Regions from separate parts of the Homo sapiens genome. Here region 1 is linked to region 2. The links are contacts of gene promoters, found by promoter capture Hi-C in blood cells and fetal thymus (Javierre and others, 2016). All regions are on one chromosome and are shown on one strand. Each heading gives the region's core, a stretch centred on a gene start or on the middle of the fragment in contact. The rest is flanking DNA. Distances are from core to core; before and after follow the strand shown. Region 1 overlaps LOC124904506 (a long non-coding RNA gene). Region 2 holds the start of LPGAT1 (lysophosphatidylglycerol acyltransferase 1).

What was found. The method cuts DNA at HindIII sites, captures the fragments that hold promoters and counts their contacts. A CHiCAGO score of 5 or more calls a contact.
Region 1: a contact is called between a fragment that was not itself captured here and the fragment with the promoter of LPGAT1 in region 2, in 1 of 17 cell types (fetal thymus). The highest score is 6.1, in fetal thymus.

Annotation. Positions count from the first base shown.
Region 1 is chr1:212,455,886-212,462,217 of GRCh38, reverse strand. It overlaps LOC124904506 (a long non-coding RNA gene), which reads left to right. Exons shown (of 2, transcript XR_007066870.1): 2 at 1-553. Among named protein-coding and RNA genes, the nearest start is that of LINC02771, 14 kb to the left of the region's middle. RefSeq lists enhancers at 1-226, 1,022-1,191. The HindIII fragment of the contact is 2,354 bases long and covers 633-2,986 here.
Region 2 is chr1:211,829,513-211,835,607 of GRCh38, reverse strand. LPGAT1 (lysophosphatidylglycerol acyltransferase 1) reads left to right here and starts at 4,845. Exons shown (of 8, transcript NM_014873.3): 1 at 4,845-5,035. It overlaps LPGAT1-AS1 (LPGAT1 antisense RNA 1), which reads right to left and starts at 4,647. Exons shown (of 6, transcript NR_135820.1): 1 at 4,568-4,647; 2 at 4,196-4,352. RefSeq lists a silencer at 4,661-5,420. The HindIII fragment of the contact is 5,763 bases long and covers 1-5,699 here.

The sequences.
Region 1 (6,332 bases), core at 560-3,059, 630 kb before region 2:
TTTTGGGGTCATTCTCGGACACACACAGAGTGGGGAAGAATGAGGGCTGCTCAACACGCACATTCCCAGCGGGGGTGGAACAAGGCCCGCTCAGCCTGCTGGCTTCAGCTCCCACAATGCAAACAAGTGTCCTTTTCGCAGGCTATTTGGTGCCACATTTTTCATGCTTTTGTGCTTTGTGTTGGTGATTTCACTGTTTAAAATGTCCCCTAAGCATATTCGAAGCAACCTGGATGAGACTGGAGACTATTATTCTAAGTGAAGTAACTCAGGAATGGAAAACCAAACATTGTCTGTTCTCACTCATAAGTGAGAGCTAAGCTATGAGGATGCAAAGGCATAAGAATGACACAATGGACTTTGGGGACTCAGGGAGAAAGAGTGGGAAGGGGGTGAGGGATAAAAGACTACAAACTGGGTTCAGTGTATGCTTCCCAGGTGATGAGTGCACCAAAATCTCACAAATCACCACTAAAGAACTGACTCATGTAACCAAATGCCACCTGTTCCCCAATAACCTATGAAAATAAAAAAAAAAATTAATGTCCCCCAAGCAGAGTGTTGGTGTTTGTTCCTAAGCACAAGAAGGCCGTGATGTCCCATACAGAGAAAACACGTGTATCAGACAAGCTTCTTTCAGACACAAGTTATGGTGCTGTTGACCATGAGTTCAGTGTCAATGAGTCAACCGTAGAGAGTAAAGAAGGTGTCTTTAATAGAAATACACATAAAACAAGGCTATGTACTGGTTGTAACCAGAGGCAGGCAGAAATCTAACCCTGTGTTTCCCCTAGGCGCAAAGGTTCAGTATCTGCTCATTCAGTGTTCACAGAGACTTTATAAAACATAACTACCATGAAGAATGAGAATTGACTCTACAGACACCTGTGCACCTGAGCCCACCTGGATTAGTGAGTCAGAATTCCCTGGGCTTAGGCCCTGGCACCTGAGTTTTTCAAAGTTTCACAGGCAATTCTGATGCTGGGCCTACATGGGAACCACCAAAGTCCAACCTCAGAACAGCCTGCGGGTCCCTGGACAGAGCCAGGTGACAACCTCAAAGCATAACTTTTAGCCACAACCGTGAGGTGGTGTGTAACACAGCGTTGTGTGGTGAGCATAGGGCTGACTCAGTGTTAGGGATCTGGAGACTCTGAGTGACCTCAGGCAAGTCATCTGACATTCAGAGCCTCAGTTTCCCCACCCACAACATGAGGATAACAACACCTGTGCACAGTGGGGTGTTTGCATAGGGGAGACTCAGACATGTCTTATGGGCTGGGACCCCAGGAGTACACTGGTGTGAGAGACTAAGGATGAGAAATAACTCATCCCAAGAGAAAGACTAGAGGTCTTGGTCTGAGAGTGATGAGCACCCCGCTGGGGAGGTCCAGGAGGAGGGACAGCTTGGAGGACCGCTTGGTGCTGGTCACTCAGGTCAGCCTCTAGCCTAGTCCTTGAAGGCTTGAGCCTAAGGAGACTACAGGGAAGGCTGCTCGCCCAAGAATCTTGGTGAGACCCAGGGAGCACACGGCCATGCAGCGTCAGAACTGACATGTGGCCCAGGGCAGATGCACGTGTCTCCCCTCCAAGGAGGGCGCCATGCACCACGGCAGTCCGGGACACTCTGTGGGGGAGGAAATCTTCACAGGCAGCATCCCTCCCTCTACCTGTGATGTAGCACCTTCTCGAGCTTTGGAGGCACTGAGGGCAGCTCCTGCAGATATCACCCCAGATCGCTGGAGTTGGGCAGGTGAGGAGTGAGCTCAGGTAGGATGCTTGCTGGGTCAAGCCCAAAAGGGAGGCCCAGAGGCCCTGCTCAGAGGCTGGGACAAGTGCAAAGCCTGAGAAAGACTGTAGTTCCTGTTTATGTGACCGGTTTCTACCCTAGACATGTATGGCTGGGGAGTGGGGGTCAGAATCAGCCACCTGTCAGCCCTGAGTGGCTGATTTCCACCTGATACTTTTAATAGCTGTGCTGATCACTATCGAAGAGTTTTAAAATGGTGCAGAGAGAGCCAAACACAGGAGCATTTTTTATCAGTCCTTTCAGACACAGCCCTGGCAGAAAAGGCAGAATTGACAGCAGGCTCTGAACTCCCACTGGTGGGCCTGGGTCCCACTGCCTCCCTCTACAAACCAGAACCAGGTGAGACCTATGGGTCTGCACAGCACTGACAAATTCCCCCAGTGAGCTAGTCCTGGCAGAAGAGGTGTGCCCGGGGCATCACGGTTCTCTCAGAAGCCTGATCTGTGCTGTATGCCAGCCATTGTTTACCCTCCCGGCCTGCCTTTCTGTCAACACTTATATTTTGCACAATGTTTCTTTGTTTGCTTTGGGTTGAGAAACTGTATTTTTTTCTTATTCACAATAGCCAAGATAGGGAAACAACCCAAATGTCCATCAACAGATGAATAGATAAAGAAAATGTGACAAATACATACAATGGAATATTATTCAGCCTTAAAAAAGAAGGAAATCCTGCCAATTGCAACAGCATGAGGAACCAAGAGGGTTTTATACTAAGTGAAAAAAGCCAGACACGGAACGACAAATACTGCATGATTCCACTTAAATGGGTATCTAAAATAGTCAGACTCATAGAAGCAGAGAATAGAAGGGCAGTTTCCAGGGGCTGGGGGAAGGGGAAATGGAGAAATGTTGCTCAATGGGTATAAAGTTTAGTTATGCGAGATGAGTAAGTTCTGGAGATGTGCTGTACAACATGGTGCCTGTAGATAACGATACAGAATTGCACCCTTTAAAATATGTTGAGAGGATAGATCTCATGTTTAGTGTTCCTACTACCAAAAAAACAAACCAAAACACAAAAGAACACAAGGAAATTTTTGGAGGCGATAGAGATGTTTAGTACCTAAATTTTGGTGATGGTATCACAGGTGTATGCATATGTCCAAACTCATCAAGATGTACTCTTTATATGTATGTGATTTTTTTGTGTATCTATTATACCTCAGTAAAGCTTTATAAATGATCAAAACAAAACTGTGTTCCCCCCACACACACCACCCCAATACAAACACAGAAGAGCTAGGCAAAAGGAAACTCTATAATGGCAGGGAACTGCTCTGATCCTGCCTGGTGGGCCACCTGCTTTGTGGAAGTTTTCACATCTAGTGTTCATTATTCTTTCTTCTGAGACTGTCTTCCTAGCCCCTCCCCTCCTCCCCCTCAGCCACACCCCCATCAGCCAGAGCTGCTCAGTCAGTCCTCGAGGAGGGCCATACATGTGTTCAGGGCTCCCAGCACTTCCTGCCACATAGCAGGTCCTCTGTGGATGTTGGGTTCCTTGTCTTTTCTTTTCTTTCTTGGGTTCACCTTGCAAAGGAGAACCAGTCAAAGACTCAGTCAAGTTACTTCAAGGAAAACAGATTTTCTCCATGAGAAAGACACTAATGGGGAAGGAAACAGAAACCCACGGCATCTGAGGCAGCAACCTTCTCTGTACCCTCTCCCAACGGCCCCAAGGTCTCCCACTCGAGTTTCTCTCCTCCCTCGGCCCAGCTTCTCCATCAGTTCTGCTCACACTTGGTGAGGGAGGGTGGGCATGGAGAAGGCCATGGCCTCTCCTCCTGGGAGCATTTTGAGACCAGGCCAGGCCACAGCTAAGGTGCAGATCAGCAGGGAGGCAGAGAGGGAGGCGTGTGCTAAGATGACTGGAACTGAGATGGCACCTGTCCTTTCTTCCTGAGATGTGGAGGCCCGCAGAGAGAAGAGCTGAGAACAGAATTACTGGCCTCTCCAAGGATAAGCCAGCCCTTCTTTCTCAGAGTAGAGCAGTTACTAACCACCGAGGGGTTAGACAACTGCTTTTGATCTCCCCAGGGCTCAGAAGGGCACAAAAGGCCCCCCACAGTCCAGGAAACTCATGTTAGGGGTTGGGACCCCTTAACACTAATGTCAGAGATGCTAAGAAGGTATCATGGAGGAAGCACTACCACCCCAAGGACGAGGCAGCAAAGGGGTGCATTTGGAATGATTAAAACTTAGAGACAGGAGCACCTTGTGGGGCTGGAACCAGACATCTGGTGAGGTGGGGGGTGCCTGCCGGCTGGTGTTGGCCTCTGAATTAGGGGTGAAGTTAGTTCTACAAGTGTTAGAAAGATTGTAAACTGAATTTAGCTGCTGCTATGGTAAGGAACTGCTGCTGCCGGGGTGAAGAAGTACTACCGGAGCCGCTTACAAGAACAGAAGTAAACAAGAAAAAGAGGGCTTCCCTCCAGCTTTCCAGTGTCCTTCTAGCACCCCCTACTGGCTGAATCCGATAGGAAGCAGCTGCCAAAGCCAAAAGTGGTTTGCCAAGTCCCAGCCCTACCATCAAAGAAGAGAGAATAGAAGAAGGACTAGAGTGACCAGGAGCTGAAGCCTGAGCCTGCTCTCATGCACACATGTGTGCACGCACACTTGCCTATGCTCACAGGTATACACCTACACATGGACCACAAGCGCCCTCTCCACAGATTTGATTGTGGGTCCTACGCTTTGGGTGTCACGCAAAGTCAGCAAACCTCAAGGCCTTGACTACAGAGACTTTTCTGATTCTGAAACTCCGGCCTCAAACATCACCCATCATCGTCCCATCCCCAAACAGCCACCAGTTTGAGTCCTTTCTGTAAAAAGGAAGCTCAGAGTTCTCCATCTCTGGAGAGATACCTGGGCTTTCAGGGAGAAAATGTCAACAGCAGCCACCCCATGTCTCCTGGAGGGGACTCCAGTAGAGGCCCAGGGAAAAGCAAGCTCTGCACCAAACTGCCCAGTGTGTAGTGAACACAACAGAGCTCATTTACCAACAGGAGGCACACACTAAACACATTCTTCTGGTCTCTGCTTAATCCCAGCTCATTCTGTCTTATTAGGTCCCTCTGCTCTCCTATTGTTTTCCACCACTGTGCATTGCTGTGTCGTTCAGAGCATGTGTCACAGTGTGCTTTTTTTTTTTCCAAAATGTGCTGTCTGTCTATCTCCTCCTCTAGATTGCCAACTCACAAGAGTGGGGCCATGCCAGCTTCTTCCACCCCTGCAGACTCAGGGCCTGGCACATCATAAGTCTCAAGTGTTTGTCAAATGAATCTATTAAAAAATAGAAAATGGCTCTAGAGGCATTGAGATAAATGGACAGGTGATGGATCTGTAGATTGGGGTGTATGCGACATAACGAACTCTGAGGAATGTTGTGGAAGGCAATTGCTCTCCTGTCCTACAAACCATCTCCAGATAAAGAGGACAGCAGGCAGGATGACTGCTCTGCCATCATGGTGTTTCTGCTGTGCTTGTGACTCTGTTCAGCCCTGTACATCCATGGAGATTAGGGCCTGAACCCAGGCTTCTCCCCTCATCCCAACTTCACCTCTGCTTCTTGGAAGGCATGGGGCTCATTGAGTGTTATAGCTGGTGGGACCCTATAGATTACAAAGGTGGCTCCACATCACCATCACCTGGGGAACATTTAAAAACATCAGTGTCTGGACACTACCACTAGTTTCCGATTCTTTGAGTTCCACAGTTCAGTGTAGCATAGTGGATGCCCAGAAACATGAACTCAAGTCCTAACTCTGCCACATACTGTATGATCTTGGCCAAGTTACTTGACTTCTCTCTGCCTCGATTTCTGGAGATGACAGCAGTATCAATCTCACAGGCTTGTTGTGAGGATCAAAGTCAACAATGTATGTGAAGCTCTTGGTGCAATGTCTGGCTCAGAGTAAATACTGAATAAAATGTAGCTATTATTGAAATTATTATCTCACAGCTACTTAGCGGCTGGCGTGGGATGAGCCTCCTGATCCTGGATCCAGTGTTCTTTCCAACACGTCACTCTGAATGTGCACACAGCCTGAGGTCAGACTCGGCAAGGCAAACATATAGTTGCTCTCCCTGGGACCCTTTAATTAAACCGTATGGAACAGAGAACTGCCCCTGAGAACCAACAGCAGATCTGACCCCTGGGAAGCAGAGAGCTGGAGAACACAGGAGTTCGGCAGTGCAGCTTTCAGGTCCTTTGGGAAGCCATTTGGCTGCTTCTGTTAGCATTTCATTATGGAAATACTGGGAACCAAAAATAGAAGTTCTTGAGGGAGCTTAATCCTCTGGGCTTTACAAAACAGCTGCTGGAGAGTTCCCGGAATTGACCACCAGGGGGCACTGTCGTCCCATGCAGGCAGCTGCTGGTGGGTCGGACCAGGACAGAAGTGTCCAAGAAAAAACCAACACCCTTCAGCAAGCTCCTACCCCAAGCCTGCCTTGCTGGGGACTCTGTGGCTGGGATCCCTGTGGATCTCCACAGCTCCTGGTCCTAGAGAAACCACTTTGC
Region 2 (6,095 bases), core at 3,596-6,095:
AGGGCAAATAGCTTAATCTCCCCATTTGTACAACGTGGGTAACAATACGGTCCTTTTAAAGTCATTGTGGGTTAGGTGCGGTGGCTCATGCCTGTAATCCCAGAACTTTGGGAGGCTGAGGCAGGTGGATCTCCTGAGTTCAGGTGTTCAAGTCCAGCCTGGGCAACATGGCAAAACCCTGTCTCTACAAAAAATACAAAAAAATTAGCTGGCCGTGGTGGCATGCATCTGTAGTCCCAGCTACTTGGGAGGCTGAAGTGGGAGGATTGCTTGAGACTGGGAGGTGGAGGTTGCAGTGAGCCGGAGATCAGGCCACGGCACTCCAGTATGGGAGACAGAGCGAGATCCTGTCTCAAAAAAAAAAAAAAAGTCATCGTGAAGATTAAATGAATTAATGTATGTAAAGCACCAAGAACATGGCCTGGATTGTTGAAAGTGATCAATAAGTGCCAGTGATTATTATTATTTTAACGTAATATTTTGAATCTTATGTTATGAAAATGCAAGTTTAAATCTGAACTATGTCTTTTTTTTTGAATTTGCTTTTTTTTGGCATTTTAAAATTCTATTCTAAATGTTAGGATTCTTTTTTTTTTTTTAATACTTTAAGTTTTAGGGTACATGTGCACAACGTGCAGGTTTGTTACATATGTATACATATGCCATGTTGCTGTGCTGCACCCATTAACTCATCATTTAGCATTAGGTATATCTCCTAATGCTATCCCTCCCCGCTCCCCCCACCCCACAACAGTCCCCAGTGTGTGATGTTCCCCTTCTTGTGTCCATGTGTTCTCATTGTTCAATTCCCACCTATGAGTGAGTGAACTATGTCTTATTCATAGGTGTACTATGTGATTTTATAGGTTCTGTGAGTAGAAGAACTTGCCAAAATATCCTTCTCCAAAACATCTTACAAATATACTCATCCATTACAATACCTGATAATCTGCCAGCAGAAATACATTAAGGCTTTGGGGGTTTTAGTTTCTGTATAAAATACTAATGCTTTAGGAAGAGAGTTCTCTCTTCCATTTTTTAGCCATAAGCCCCTTGTCATGGATTAGCTGACCACACCAGGAAGGGGAGATAAGGATTGAGCCAAGGAAACATAACATTGGACAGGTGAGAAAGAAGGTTCTAGCTTAGAGTATTATCTGTTTGGGGAGCAGGGGGAGGCCTCATGTGGAGTCTTCAGGGCCCTTTGGAAACTAGGGATAATTTTAGCCTTAAGAAGGGAAAAGAGAAGCTAGCCGAACAGGAGAGGAGCATGGAGGAGACACAATTGTTTACTTTATAGTATTGTTTAGGGTCAATCATGTTAATAAAAAGAATTGCTGAAATGGCTGAGAGTTGCAGTCAAGTCTGGAGGATTTTTTTTTTCTTTGAGACAGAGTCTTGCTCTGTCGCCCAGGCTAAAGTACAGTGGCATGATCTAGGCTTACTGCAACCTCTGTCTCCCAGGTTCAAGCAATTCTCGTGCCTCAACCTCCCGAGTAGCTGGGATTACAGGCGGGTGCCATAACGCTCGGCTAATTTTTGTATTTTTAGTAGAGGCAGGTTTTCGTCATGTTGGCCAGGCTGGTCTCAAACTCCTGACCTCAAGTGATCTGCCTGACTCAGCCTCCCAACGTGTTGGGATTACAGGTGTGAGCCACCACACTCAGCCAAGTGTGGATGATTTGGCTCACCCTATCTGAAAAATTTTAAGGTTATAAGCCCTGGAGCATTTTATATAAAATAATTATTGACATGAATATAGAAGAGAACATCCATATATATTTCCATTTTTTGTTTGAAGTTAAAGCTGACAACAGTCAGAATGCATGACTCTTTTGGGCTGCTGATTTCAAGCCTGCAACTGTTTCCTAGCAATGTAGGGGGCCTGTGCCAAGTCATTGAAGGTTATTGCTGGTAGGGTTTCTCCCTAGACAGGAAATAGTTCACTGGAGCTTTAGTGCAGAAACCAACACAGGTAGGTAAAATGTTTTTATAATTGCCACTAGGAAAAAGAGAGGGCCCAGGGGGTACTCTTCTGCCCAAGGGAACCTCTCCCTGGTTATAACCTAATTTGTTGTGTGTATGTGGACTAGATGGGTGGAATTCAACCTTCTAAGGTATTGTGGTTATATTGCTTTCAAATGACTGGCGATTCCAAGAAATGTAAGAAATCCTCTTTCTTTTTCAAAGGACCATTCTCTTGTGGTTCAAATGTGGGCTTTTGAAACAGAAACAATAATGTCTGTGGCTATAGGGTGGGGTCTGTTCATTTCCCTCTTTTCTCTATTGGAGTGTACATGAAGGTGTTGAAATTGTTGGCTTCATGTTTGTGTTTTGATAAAGATGGCTCTAAGGTAGCAGGATAGGGGACTAGAAGCTAACTAGTCATTGAAGAAGATCCTTGTTTTCCACAGAACAGTCTACCCTGGAGAACTGGCTGTTCCAATCTTCCTGTTACAGTCATTCAGAGCATTCATACATCTCTCTGTCCATGGTGCAATAAAATAGGCTATGGAACAATCTCAGGAGGCTTCCTAAGTGGTTGAAAGGAGGCAGGGCAAAAAAATTGTAGTATAGGCAAGAGGAAGGTAAAACTAACTAAAACGAACTTCGAAATGCAAGAAATAAACACAAGCATCATCTGAAATTGTTCCCTTAAGAAGTCAGCCCTAACAGTTTCTTATCTATTATAGCAGCTGAATTATCTTGAAACTGATATTGTGGTCAGAAAGTTAAGAAGATAACCCCTCTCCTACACTCTTGGCACAAAACCAGGGCATATCTATACCTGGAACATAATGTGTTGTACTGTTGGTTGAGTTTCAAGAAAAGTCCAATGAGGTTGGAAGCAGTTAATATGAGGATATCTGAAAAGATCAAGGAGATTAGGTATTCCCTACTCCTTCCATAAGGAGGTACTGAAATGGCAGAATTCTGCAATGAGAGATGGTGATCAGCAAGCCGAGGGGACAGGCCTCAGAAGAAACCAGACCTCCCCACACTTTGATCTCTGATCTTGGCCTTCAGAACTTCGAGAAAATAAGTTTCTGTTGTTTAAGCCACCCAGTTTGCAGTATTTTGTTATGGCAGCTCTAGCTGACTAACACACATGAGAACACATATGATCAAATGATTTAAAATTATGAAGGGTCTAGAAGAGAATGTGATCATCTCAGAATACCTCTAAGTCAGGGTTTCTTAAAGCAAGGTCTGCATACTACTTGCATCAGAATCACCTATGACGCTTTTTAAAAAGCAGGTTCTCAGGTCCACTGGACCTAGATTATTAAAATGTTCTGGTATGATGCTGAAGAATCTGTCTCTTTGGTAGACACTTCAAGTGTTGTTTTTGTACACTAAAGAGCCAGAGGTCCTGCCCAACCTCTGGCTCTTTTCTGAGCCTGAAAATGAATTCTGGGCCTGGTACTAATTGCATTTCATCAAGTGCTGCTGTGTCTGGTCCTCTGGCAGATGGTCCCTGATCCAGGAATCACGTGTAAATCCCATTGTAGGTTATCTCTCTCCAGGTGTCAGCCAACGTTTACGCAGCATGTGGGAAAGCTGAATTGCATGGACCAGATGGAATCCTTAGAGTTTATTCTTGATTGTGGAAATAAATATGTACCTCACCTATCTTACTGAAGAATATAATGACATATTTTGAATAATAAAGTATATATATTATCTCTCTCATGAGATTTATTTAAAGATCTTACTACCTTGTCAATAAAGAGAGAATGCAAGGAATAGAATGGGGCATATCTTTCCTTCACCTGTGGACCTAAGAGGAACTGAAATTAGAGAAAGTTGAGAGTCCAGAGCAAACGCTGTGATGAACATTTTCAAAATAGGCAGAATAGGTGGCATTCTGATTCAAATATGGCAGTTCCCTAGGGAGTGTGAAATCTGCCCTGCCCCATCCCCTCCATTTACAAATGTGCTTAAGGGACATAAGGTTTTATAAACAGGATTTTTAAAAACTAAAATTTAGGCAGATCATTTAAGAATGCTCAAGGGGGTAGGTCAATGGACTATTTCTCTATTTTCCTTCAGGTGGTCCAGCCTTTGAACCAGAATGCAGCTATAGTATCCCAAGTGACGGGGTCTGTCTAGGAGTTCCCATGGCCACTGTTTTTTGTCTTTTCGGTTTTTCTTTTTATGGCGGGCGGGGGAGGGCGGGCGGGTGAGTACTTACTTAATGCCAGGCACTTGGTTGTTTTTTCCTTCTTGACTAACCAGATTTCAGTTTCTCTGTGTAGACCATTCATTCCCACTGAGTTTCTTGGTGGGGTGGTGGGGGCGGGGGCGATGAATGGGAAAGTGGAATTGCCATTAATGTTCCAGCTGCTTTCCTGAAACAAGACTTTTGACCGTAAAAAGAATGAATTTGAAACTCTAGACAATAATACACTGCAGAGGTTAAGAAGAAAAGCCATGAGTGCAACCGGGTTTCATTAAGAATGAAAAGTGGACATTTAGCCGTCAAGGAGACAGGTTCCTAGTTTGGGCAGAGAAGAGAGCCCTAACAATGAAAGGCGGCCGTGTTGGCTGAAAGGGGGCTCTCAACTGAAACCAAGGCACTCCTGGGGTGTGAGGATGGGTGTTCATTCCTAGATCTTTCCGAGCGGCCCTTTCCCTCAGTATGTTCTGGACTCACTGAGGTCCTGGCCGAGCGTCCAGGTAGCCCCGAGGGCCCCGACTCGCTGGCGCAGGGGTAGGGGGAGCGGGCCAGGCGGGGCAAGCGGGCCAGGCAGCGGCGGCGGCGCTTTCATTAGAGGGCGCTGTGGGAGCGGCTCCGCCGCAGTCCCGACTCCCGCCGCTTCCTCCCGCCGCCCCTCCCCGCCAGTCCGGGCGAACGCGGCCGGGCCCTTGGGGACCGAGTCTCGGCGCCGCCGGGGAACGGGCGCGGGCCGCGCCACAGCCGGAGCGGGGCAGGGCCCCGCCACCGCCTTCTTCCGCCGGCCCCGCCGCCGGCCATGCATTCTTCCGGCTCCTCTGACTCCCAAAGCCCCGGCTGGGGCCCGGCCAGCCCGAGGTAACCTCCGGCTCCGCGGTCGCAGGCCCCAGAGCGGCAGCGGAGCCGGGCCAGGGGAGGCGCTGGGGGCGGGGAAGGGGGTGTCGTCGTCGCGTGGCCCGGGGAGGCGGCAGCGGCCTGAGGGACGAGGGCGCGGTAGGCCCCGGGGAGGAGGCGGGGGCGCGGGGCATCCGCCCGCCTCCCCGGGACCCGCCCGGGTGACAGGTCCGGCCTCTGAGTCCCCGCCGTCCCTCTGTCCGCAGGCAGCCGCGAGGGGAGTAGGGCGCCAGCGCGCCCGCTCGCGCAGCGCCTCGGGCCGCTTGGGCCGCCACCGCGTCCATGACCGCGACCCCTCGGCGGGGGACACCCGCCCCCGCTCTCCGCAGCCGCCCGCCGTCCGCGCCCGCCGAGGTGAGCCCGGCGCGCGGGCCGCGCCCGCCGCCACGACCCTTCCACATCCGCGGAAACCGCTGCAGGCTCCACCGGCTCCCCGCGCTGCGGTCGCCTCTTCTCTGCCCCTTTCATCATCCCCTGCTTCCTTGCCCTCTGGTCGGAAATCTCATTCTCTTCATCCCCAGTTCCTTGGCTTTTACCTCTTTCTGGCTTTTGCTCCCTTCCCCCTACTCCTGTCCTTCCTCTTTTTCGCATTATAACCCCCTACTTTCTTCCTCTCACCTTGTAAGCTTTTTTTCTAGGCCCCCCATTTTTTTTCTTAAAAAAAAAAGGGAAACAAAAACCCTATTGCTACAAATGAGAATTTTGAGGGTAACTCTTCGCTAGAGCCAGAGACCTTTTAAAGGAATGCATCGGTGTGCAGGAATCGTGGTGGTGAGGAGACTGAGGTCCTCAGTATCTGGGAAATCTTATTGAGGGGACCCTGTTTCGGTCATGTCACTTGTGTCTTCAGTTTGGAGATCCTGAGGTTGTCTGAAGCGAGTGGATCTATTTTTCTAAGTCCAATAGACGACCGCAGTGAGACACGGTGCGGGGACGGCCACCGATTACTGAATGGGAATTGTGTTATCATTTGCTAAATATATTGTGACATACTTCGTGCCTCGGTGAACAGCTCCCTTGACCT